3 separate regions of the Homo sapiens genome follow, and all the other regions are linked to region 2. Evidence: promoter capture Hi-C in 16 types of primary human blood cells and fetal thymus (Javierre and others, 2016). All regions are on one chromosome and are shown on one strand. Each heading gives the region's core, a stretch centred on a gene start or on the middle of the fragment in contact. The rest is flanking DNA. Distances are from core to core; before and after follow the strand shown.

The links. Contacts are between HindIII fragments. The CHiCAGO score rates a contact against its expected background, and 5 or more counts as called.
Region 1: a contact is called between a fragment that was not itself captured here and the fragment with the promoter of SF3B4 in region 2, in 7 of 17 cell types (erythroblasts, M1 macrophages, endothelial precursors and 4 more). The highest score is 9.8, in erythroblasts.
Region 3: a contact is called between a fragment that was not itself captured here and the fragment with the promoter of SF3B4 in region 2, in 2 of 17 cell types (M1 macrophages and erythroblasts). The highest score is 5.7, in M1 macrophages.

The regions. Positions count from the first base shown.
Region 1 is chr1:150,048,089-150,050,788 of GRCh38, reverse strand. It overlaps LOC124904413 (a long non-coding RNA gene), which reads right to left. Exons shown (of 3, transcript XR_007066598.1): 2 at 2,659-2,700. It also overlaps a transcript of OTUD7B not described here. Among named protein-coding and RNA genes, the nearest start is that of VPS45, 18 kb to the left of the region's middle. The HindIII fragment of the contact is 428 bases long and covers 1,189-1,616 here.
Region 2 is chr1:149,926,553-149,929,252 of GRCh38, reverse strand. It overlaps SF3B4 (splicing factor 3b subunit 4), which reads left to right and starts at 1,450. Exons shown (of 6, transcript NM_005850.5): 1 at 1,450-1,527; 2 at 1,959-2,087; 3 at 2,335-2,700. The coding sequence starts at 1,494. MTMR11 (myotubularin related protein 11) reads left to right here. Exons shown (of 17, transcript NM_001145862.2): 17 at 1-602. The coding sequence ends at 124. RefSeq lists enhancers at 70-139, 1,274-1,653. The HindIII fragment of the contact is 3,542 bases long and covers 1-2,700 here.
Region 3 is chr1:150,031,828-150,034,657 of GRCh38, reverse strand. The region is part of intron 1 of LOC124904413 (a long non-coding RNA gene); the gene reads right to left. It also overlaps a transcript of OTUD7B not described here. Among named protein-coding and RNA genes, the nearest start is that of OTUD7B, 23 kb to the right of the region's middle. The HindIII fragment of the contact is 2,863 bases long and covers 117-2,830 here.

The DNA of each region.
Region 1 (2,700 bases), core at 153-2,652, 120 kb before region 2:
AGGGCGCCCTTGAATCACCAAGAACAGGCTCTGTAACACTGGGAGCTGGCATACTGAGTAATTGTTATGTGAATGAGGGAAAATGCATTGTTTTGGCTAAAATAGATTGCAAAATGCTTGTTTAGTGTTGGATTTAGCCTGTTTATGGCTTTAAATTTATTGAGTCACTGCATGAGTTTGCTGTTACATTATTTTTTCATTTCTTAAAGACTAGATAAAAGTAATTGCTGTAAGATTCAAATCAACAGGTGTTCTGGACTTGGAAGATTTGTTGAATTACTATGAAGTCACATCTAAAGTTTGAAAGGTGAGAATCTGATTATGATTTCCATTCATGTCTGACTGCAATTGACAGTAGTGTATCTGTCACTATGAATATATATATGTGTTAGGCCATGTGCTAAGTACTTTCTGTGCATTTTTCTCACAACTCAAAGACATAAGTAGTAGTGCTATCTTCTTTTTATTGTTTAAATTTTATTCATTTATTTCTTTTATTTATTTTTACTTGATTTCCTGGGATATGAGAGATAAATATTTATTTTTAATTGGCAAAAATTGTAATATTTATCATGTAAAGCATGCTTTTTTTTTTGAGACAGGGTCTCCCTGGATTGCCCAGGCTAGAGTACAGTGGCGCAATCATGGCTCACTGCAGCCTTGACCTCCCTGGTTCAAGTGACCCTCCAGCCTCTACTGGCACGTAACACCATGCCTGGAGAATTTTTTTAAAAGTTTTGTACAGATGGGGGTCTCACTGTTCTGCCTAGGCTGGTCTTGAATTCCTGGGCTCATGCTACCTTCCTGCCTCAGCCTCCCAAAGTGTTGGGATGACAGGAATGAGCCATTACACCTGGCCTCATGTACAACATATTTTGAAACAATAACCTTTCTTTTTTAAAAATGAGAAAATAGGGCTGGGCACGGTGGTTCATTTGTGTCATTCCAGCACTTTGGGAAGCCAAGGCGGAGCCCAGTAGTTCAAGACCAGCCTGAGCACATGGTAAAACCCATCTCTATAAAAAATACAGAAATTAATTGCGTGGTGGTTTGCACCTGTGGTCCTAGCTACTCGGGAGGCTGAGGCAGGGGGATTGCTTGAGCCCAGGAGGTCGAGCCTGTAATCAGCCTGTCTCAAAAAAAAAAAAAAAAAAAGAAAGAGAGAGAGAGAGAAGGAAAATAAAAGCTTAGAGACATTAAGATAATGTCCCCTAATAAGTGACAAAACTGAGATTTGAACTTGGGGATGTGAACACCGGAATCCATGCCTATGCCCAGAAAATTATACTGTAAATGACAATTTCCTCTGTTCATGGCACAAAATATACAAGTCATAGTGAATTGGGGTTTTTTCTGCTTCAATTTTCAGTTATTATTAAAAGTATATAGCAACATCCTGACTAACCACGATTTAATTTAGGAATAATATTGGGAAGTTAGACTTTTTTATTTCCTGGTGATATAGTAGTTTCAACTCAGATATAGAGAATAATTTAATTCCTGGTCAAGAGAACACTCAAATTTAGAGAGCAGCATGACAGAATGAAAAGAACATTGAATTGAGAACCAGGTAATCTGATTTATAGTGTATTTTACTACTACTGTCTGGAAAAGCTTCAGAACTGATTTAAGTTTACTAGACCTCTAAGTAGACGGGGCATGGTGGCTCACACCTGTAATCCCAGCACTTTGGGAGGCTGAGGCAGACGGATCACTTGAGGTCAGGAGTTCGAGACCAGCCTGGCCAACATGGTGAAACCTCATCTCTACTGAAAAAAAAATACAAAAATTAGCCGAGTGTGGTGGCGGGCGCCTGTAATCCTAGCCACTCAGGAGGCGGAGGCAGGAGAATTGCTTGAACCAGTGAGGCAGAGGTTGCCGTGAGCTGAGATCATGCCACTGAACTCCAGCCTGGGTGACAGGGTGAGACTCCGTCTCAAATTTTTTTTTTAATGAAACAAAATAAGAAAATAGACTAGGAAACTTGAGTTATTAATCTATGAGTTTTATGTTTTGTACATGGAAATCATTTTCTTTGTTTATATCCACATACTGTGTATGTCTTGTTTAATTTCTGGAAGTAGTGTATTAATACAATTTTTTTTTTTAAGAGTCAAGGTCTTACTCTCTTCCCCAGGCTGGTGTGCAGTGGTACAATCATAGTTCACTGCAGCCTTGAACTCTTGGGCTCAAGCAATCCTTTCACTGTGCTAATTTTATTTATTTATTTTGTGTAGAGATCGGGTCTCACTATTTTGCCCACGCTGGTCTTGAACTCCTGTCCTCAAGCAGGATATCCTCCTGCCTTGGCCTCCCAAAGTTCTGGGATTACAGGTATGAGCCACTACACTCAGCCTTATTAATATAAATCTAATAATATTATGTCTCTGTGTTAGCAATGGTATGAAACCCCCCAAATGGTGTTAGATCCAGAGTCATTTGTCTCTGACATTTCTTAGGAAATGTTTTTCCTTTCTATCGATGAATGGGTTCCTACGGATAGCTTGTTCATTCTCTCTTTAATTTTGGTTAAAGCATTTCCGAAAGTGGGAGGATACGTCTCCTTTCTTTAACTTCTGGTGGAAGGGTGTGGAATTTATCAAAAATATGAGGGAAGACTGCATAAATGTAGGGGCAGAGTATTTATATTAACATTACCTTGTTTTCTTCTGTGGGATATTTAGGAACTATTTTTTTTTC
Region 2 (2,700 bases), core at 201-2,700:
ACGGAAATGGACACCAAGAATATCTCCTGAGGATCACTCCAAGAAAAGAGATCCACATACCATTCTCAATCCCACTGAAATTGCTGGCATTCTCAAAGGCAGGGCAGAGGGGGATCTGGGGTAGAGGAGGGTTCTGTCTAATCTTTTTTTTTTTTTTTTGTATCTGCACTTGCAGCCTCAGCTTTCACACTTCAGCCCTTAAGTTCACTAAGAAGGTCTGAGTTTCTGCTGCAGATAGTGGTGTTAACTGCTCCAACTCTTGTCTTGCTTAGTTTCTACAAATATTTTTGCTTCTTGTCATTTGAAGGATTAAGAAACAAAAACAATCCAGAAATTGATCGGTTTTTTTAGGCCAATCCCATCCCTTCTGGATAACCAGATGTTAAATCATGAGATCAGAGATGCTGTTCATCAGTCCCAACAAGATGGCCTAGAAATCGCATTCTCACCTCGCCTTGCTGCTGCTTTAATTCCAAGTTCTATTTCTTCCCTTATAGTTTTCTATGGGAATGAGGCGGATACAGGAAACACCCTATCTCCTCTGTATTTTTGTAGTGGAATTTCTATTTAAGGGGCTCATTAAAGCATAGTATTTATACACATTGCTGGCATTGTTTCTTGTGTTTGAATAAAGGATTCTCCTAGGTAGGAAAGTGGTGGGTAAAAGGGGTGTATGACCCAAGAGAGGAAGGCATCCACCATATTATTGCTAAGGAAATAGGGGAACTGGGTTTGGTGAGGCTCTGCAAAATTCAAGTGCAATTTGGGGAAAGGGTTCTCTTGTGTGTGTCTCCCATTTAGAGGCAGATGGGGCCAGAGTGTTCTAGAGATCCAGACTCTAGAGCTCCGATCCCATCCACCCCTCAGCTGTGGTCACACACCAACGCGGAGCAGCCCTCACCCTCCCCATGCAATTAGGACGAGGTGAGCGCAGACGTCACTCTAAGCTCAGACATTTCGCAGTCTCCTCCCCTGAGGGAAAACCAAATACCTCCAGCCCAAATCAGGGTTGTGAGGCCAAATCTGCAAGAAGGCTGCAGGCGAGAGGGAAGGCTCCCTCTGCGCCTGAAAGCCCCCAAGTCCTCGGGTTGGGGGGAACTCTTCAGCACATCCTTCTCTGGACAACAGAAGAAGAATCACTGTCCACAAAATATATTAAAACTGAAATTTTTGTTCTTTTAGCTTTCGAATTTACACTTTTGAGAGCAGTGTGATTCTTTCAAGTCTAGCAGTGCATTAAGAGGGCCTGAGCGTTTCCGTTCCGCCCTCCTCGCTAAGACAACTAGCAGCGGCACCTCAGGACGCGAGCCGAGGACTCTACCGCCCGACCCAGGTTAAGTTTCGGAGGCTCCTAAGATGGCTGCAGCCGCTTCCAGGCACCTCCTCTTCCGCGGCCCCGCCCACCGCTACGTCCGTCTTCGCCCCGGAAGTGGAAGTCGTGCTGAGGTCAGAAGGCGGAACCGCTGCTGGGAGACGGCGGGATCTCTTTCGCCATGGCTGCCGGGCCGATCTCCGAGCGGAATCAGGGTAACTGGAGGGGGAAAGTCTGGAATGGGCTCAGCGTGGCTAGGAGGCCCCGACTACAGCCAGCAGTGTCTCTGCAGGGGTGGGAGACTGGACTCCTCCCTTCCCCAGAGGGCGCGAGACCGGCCCTCTGCCTGTTGGGGGCGGGGTGGCCGGGTGCTGGCTGAGGCCTCTGGGTGTGATACTTAAGTCCGGTCCCCTGCTGACTTCTCACTCAAAAAATCAAAAAAACCCACTCACAATACTAAATTAGACTTCAGAGGATTCCCGAAGTCCTGGGAAGAGAGAAGTTTAAGGGTTTAAACTTTTTTTTTTGCTCCTGTCCCCTACCGCGGTCCCCAGTTCCCCTGGTTGGGTTCCATCTTCATGTTTCCATCACTTCCTTCCTTCCCGTTACACTCTCACGCTTGCTCTTTTTGCTCCCTCCCTTCAAGATGCCACTGTGTACGTGGGGGGCCTGGATGAGAAGGTTAGTGAACCGCTGCTGTGGGAACTGTTTCTCCAGGCTGGACCAGTAGTCAACACCCACATGCCAAAGGATAGAGTCACTGGCCAGCACCAAGGTGAGTACATGACAAGGGGCGAATTGCTCCCGGAGGGTCCCAGCAGTATTCACAACTGTTTTGGAATAACATGAGCAACCTAAAGATTTTTTTCTTTTAAGCCTCTCTTCAGTTTATTTCTGGAACCATTCTTAAGTAAAGTGATGTTGTTTCTTTCTTGTTCTTTGTGATTAGAGGGTAGATGAATTTTACCCCATTTTCAGTCTCTTTACTTACGTTGTTAACCTCCTCTTCTCCACTTTTCCAGGCTATGGCTTTGTGGAATTCTTGAGTGAGGAAGATGCTGACTATGCCATTAAGATCATGAACATGATCAAACTCTATGGGAAGCCAATACGGGTGAACAAAGCATCAGCTCACAACAAAAACCTGGATGTAGGGGCCAACATTTTCATTGGGAACCTGGACCCTGAGATTGATGAGAAGTTGCTTTATGATACTTTCAGCGCCTTTGGGGTCATCTTACAAACCCCCAAAATTATGCGGGACCCTGACACAGGCAACTCCAAAGGTTATGCCTTTATTAATTTTGCTTCATTTGATGCTTCGGATGCAGCAATTGAAGCCATGAATGGGCAGTACCTCTGTAACCGTCCTATCACCGTATCTTATG
Region 3 (2,830 bases), core at 299-2,798, 110 kb before region 2:
AGAGTCCTATTCTGCTAAATGCCAGAGGGTTGAGCTGCTTCACATGTTTGCAGAAATGATTTCTTTTTTTAAAGTAGCTCTGTCAGCTGGGAGCAGAAACAGAGAAAGAACAAGCTTGCTGAATGAGGATGGGTTGGAGTTGGCCAGAACTCCTGTCATAATTCTGTCACTGGCATTCTTGCTGCAGCTAGCAGAAACTATGTGTGTGTGATATCTATAGGGCTGTCATCTACATCTAACTTAAAGTGCTTATGTGAGTAATTTTTGAGTTCTAACTGCAGGTATGGTGCTGGTTATGACCCTAATAGGCAGCAATGGACATGTGTTTATTATTATATTGGAGCAGACTTTGCCTTAGTTCCCTAATCTAGAATTGATCCCAATACCTTTAATCATATCCCACAGACTTATTAGGGCCAAACTATGTATATGAAAGTCTTTTGAGAAATTAAAAGTACTAAATGAAACAGATTTATTAGTAATAACTGCTTAGAGACATTCTAATGTCATGGTTTTGGAGTTAAACTAGCTTGGGCTTGAATCCTGGCTTTGCCACTTATCATGTAACTTTAAACAAGTCTCCTTAACCTGTGTGATCCTCAGTGTTGTCCATTATAATTCTTAAAATAATATTATTAGGCTGGGTGCGGTGGCTCACGCCTGTAATCCCAGCACTTTGGGAGGCTGAGGTGGGCGGATCATAAGGTCAAGAGATTGAGTCCATCCTGGCCAACATGGTGAAACCTGGTCTCTACTAAAAATACAAAAATTAGCTGGGTGTGGTGGCGCACACCTGTAGTCCCAGCTACTTGGGAGGCTGAGGCAGGAGAATCGCTTAAACCTGGGAGGTGGAGGTTGCAGTGAGCCAAGTTCGCGCCACTATACTCCAGTCTGGTGACAGCGAGATTCCATCTCAAAAAAAATTATTAATATGTATAGTACATACTAATATTGATAATATGTCATAATATTAGTATGTATTGTTGTGAGGATGAATGAAGGCAAAATGCTTGCTACGGTGCTTAAACATAGTAAAATGAGCAGTAGATGATAACTACTGTTACTGTTAACACTACATGGTAGAGATTAGCAGAGACTAAAAATATCCTATATTTTAACTCCTCTTTTTTACCACTGGCAAGTTCTTTGTGACATAAAGACACTGGATAATATTGAAGTGTTGATGTTAAGGATAATATTGATGGCTATAGTTAGGATTATTGCCTTCCTCCAACTATTTCACTTAGTTGTCTGGGCAGCAGGGAAAAGAATGAGTTTGGGAGGCTGGAGGGAAGAATATTTTGTCCTCAAAAGGCCATATTTAAAAGATGTATATTATTTTATTATTAGATTTTTTGGGCAAAAGTTTTAAAAGTGATAATACAGATATCAATAACGTCAGAAAAGTGGGCTGGTAGAAATGTACAGTAGTACAATTTTTTTATAAGGTAATTGAGCAATACATATTAAAGGTCTTAAACGCATTCAGACTTTGACCCAGCATTTTTATTTTTAGGAAAAGAGATGTAGAAAATAAGTATAACAAAGATTTATAGATGTTCTTCCCAGCATTATTTATAATAGTGGGTCAAAAAAAAGTTAAATGTCTAACAATGGAAACTGAGTAATTACAGAATGTCCTAGTCATGTAATAAGATAATATGCAGTTACTAAAAATTATGTTGGGGGTTAAAAACTCAAATGCCTTCAGTTGTTTAGCAAGTAAAGTATATGTGTGAAGACACTAGGGATTGGTGAGGACGGTGGTGAACTGGAGAGTTTATATTCCACGTGGAGGCATTAATTTACATTATAAAAGAATACTGTTTTGGCCAAGACACGATTAAATTCTATCCACAGGTTTACCAGTTTGAAACATCTACTGTTGAAGAATTTTAAAATGTGGGAAGATACTCATGGTATACTTTCTTCTTCTTCTTCTTCCTCCTCCTCCTCCTCCTCCTTCTTCTTCTTCTTATTCCTCTTCCTCCTCTTCTTCCTCTTCTTTTCTTCTTTTCTTCTTTTAACAGGATTTTGCTCTGTCGCCCAGGCTAGAGTACAGTGGCAAGATCATGTCTCACTGCAGCCTTAAACTCCTGGTCTCAATCAATCCTCCCACCTCAATTTACCAAGTAGCTAGGACTACAGGCATGCACCACCATACCTGGCTATTTTTTTTTTTTTTTTTTTTTCTGTAGACAGGTTCTTGCTATGTTGCCCAAGCTAGTCTCGGAACTCCTGGGCTCAAGCAGTCCTCCCAATTTAGCCGCCAAAAGTGCTGGACTACAGTCTTGAGCCACCATGCCTGGCCTCATGGTGTGCTTTTTTTTTTCTTTTATTTTTTTGAGACAGAATTTCGCTCTTATTGCCCAGGCTGGAGTGCAATGGCGGGATTTCGGCTCACTGCAACCTCCGCCTCCCGGGTTCAAGCGATTCTCCTGCCTCAGCCTCTTGAGTAGCTGGGATTACAGGTGTGTGCTACAATGCCCAGCTAATTTTTTGTATTTTTAGTAGAGACGGGGTTTCACCATGTTGGCCAGGCTGGTCTCGAACTCCTGACCTCAAGTGATCCACCCGCCTCAGCCTCCCAAAGTGCTGGGATTACAGGCATGAGCCACCGTGCCTGGCCTTATGGTGTGCTTTTAAGTGACAAAAGCAAATAAGAAAACATAGGTAAAGAATGGTTCCAATACTTTTTAAAGTATGTGTGTTTATAGTTATATCTCTTCTCTGTTGGTCTGTCTTATCTATCTGGAAGGATATTTGCCAAAACAATAATAGCAAATACTTAACATAGACCTTATTATGTGCCAGAGAGTGTTTTAAGCAC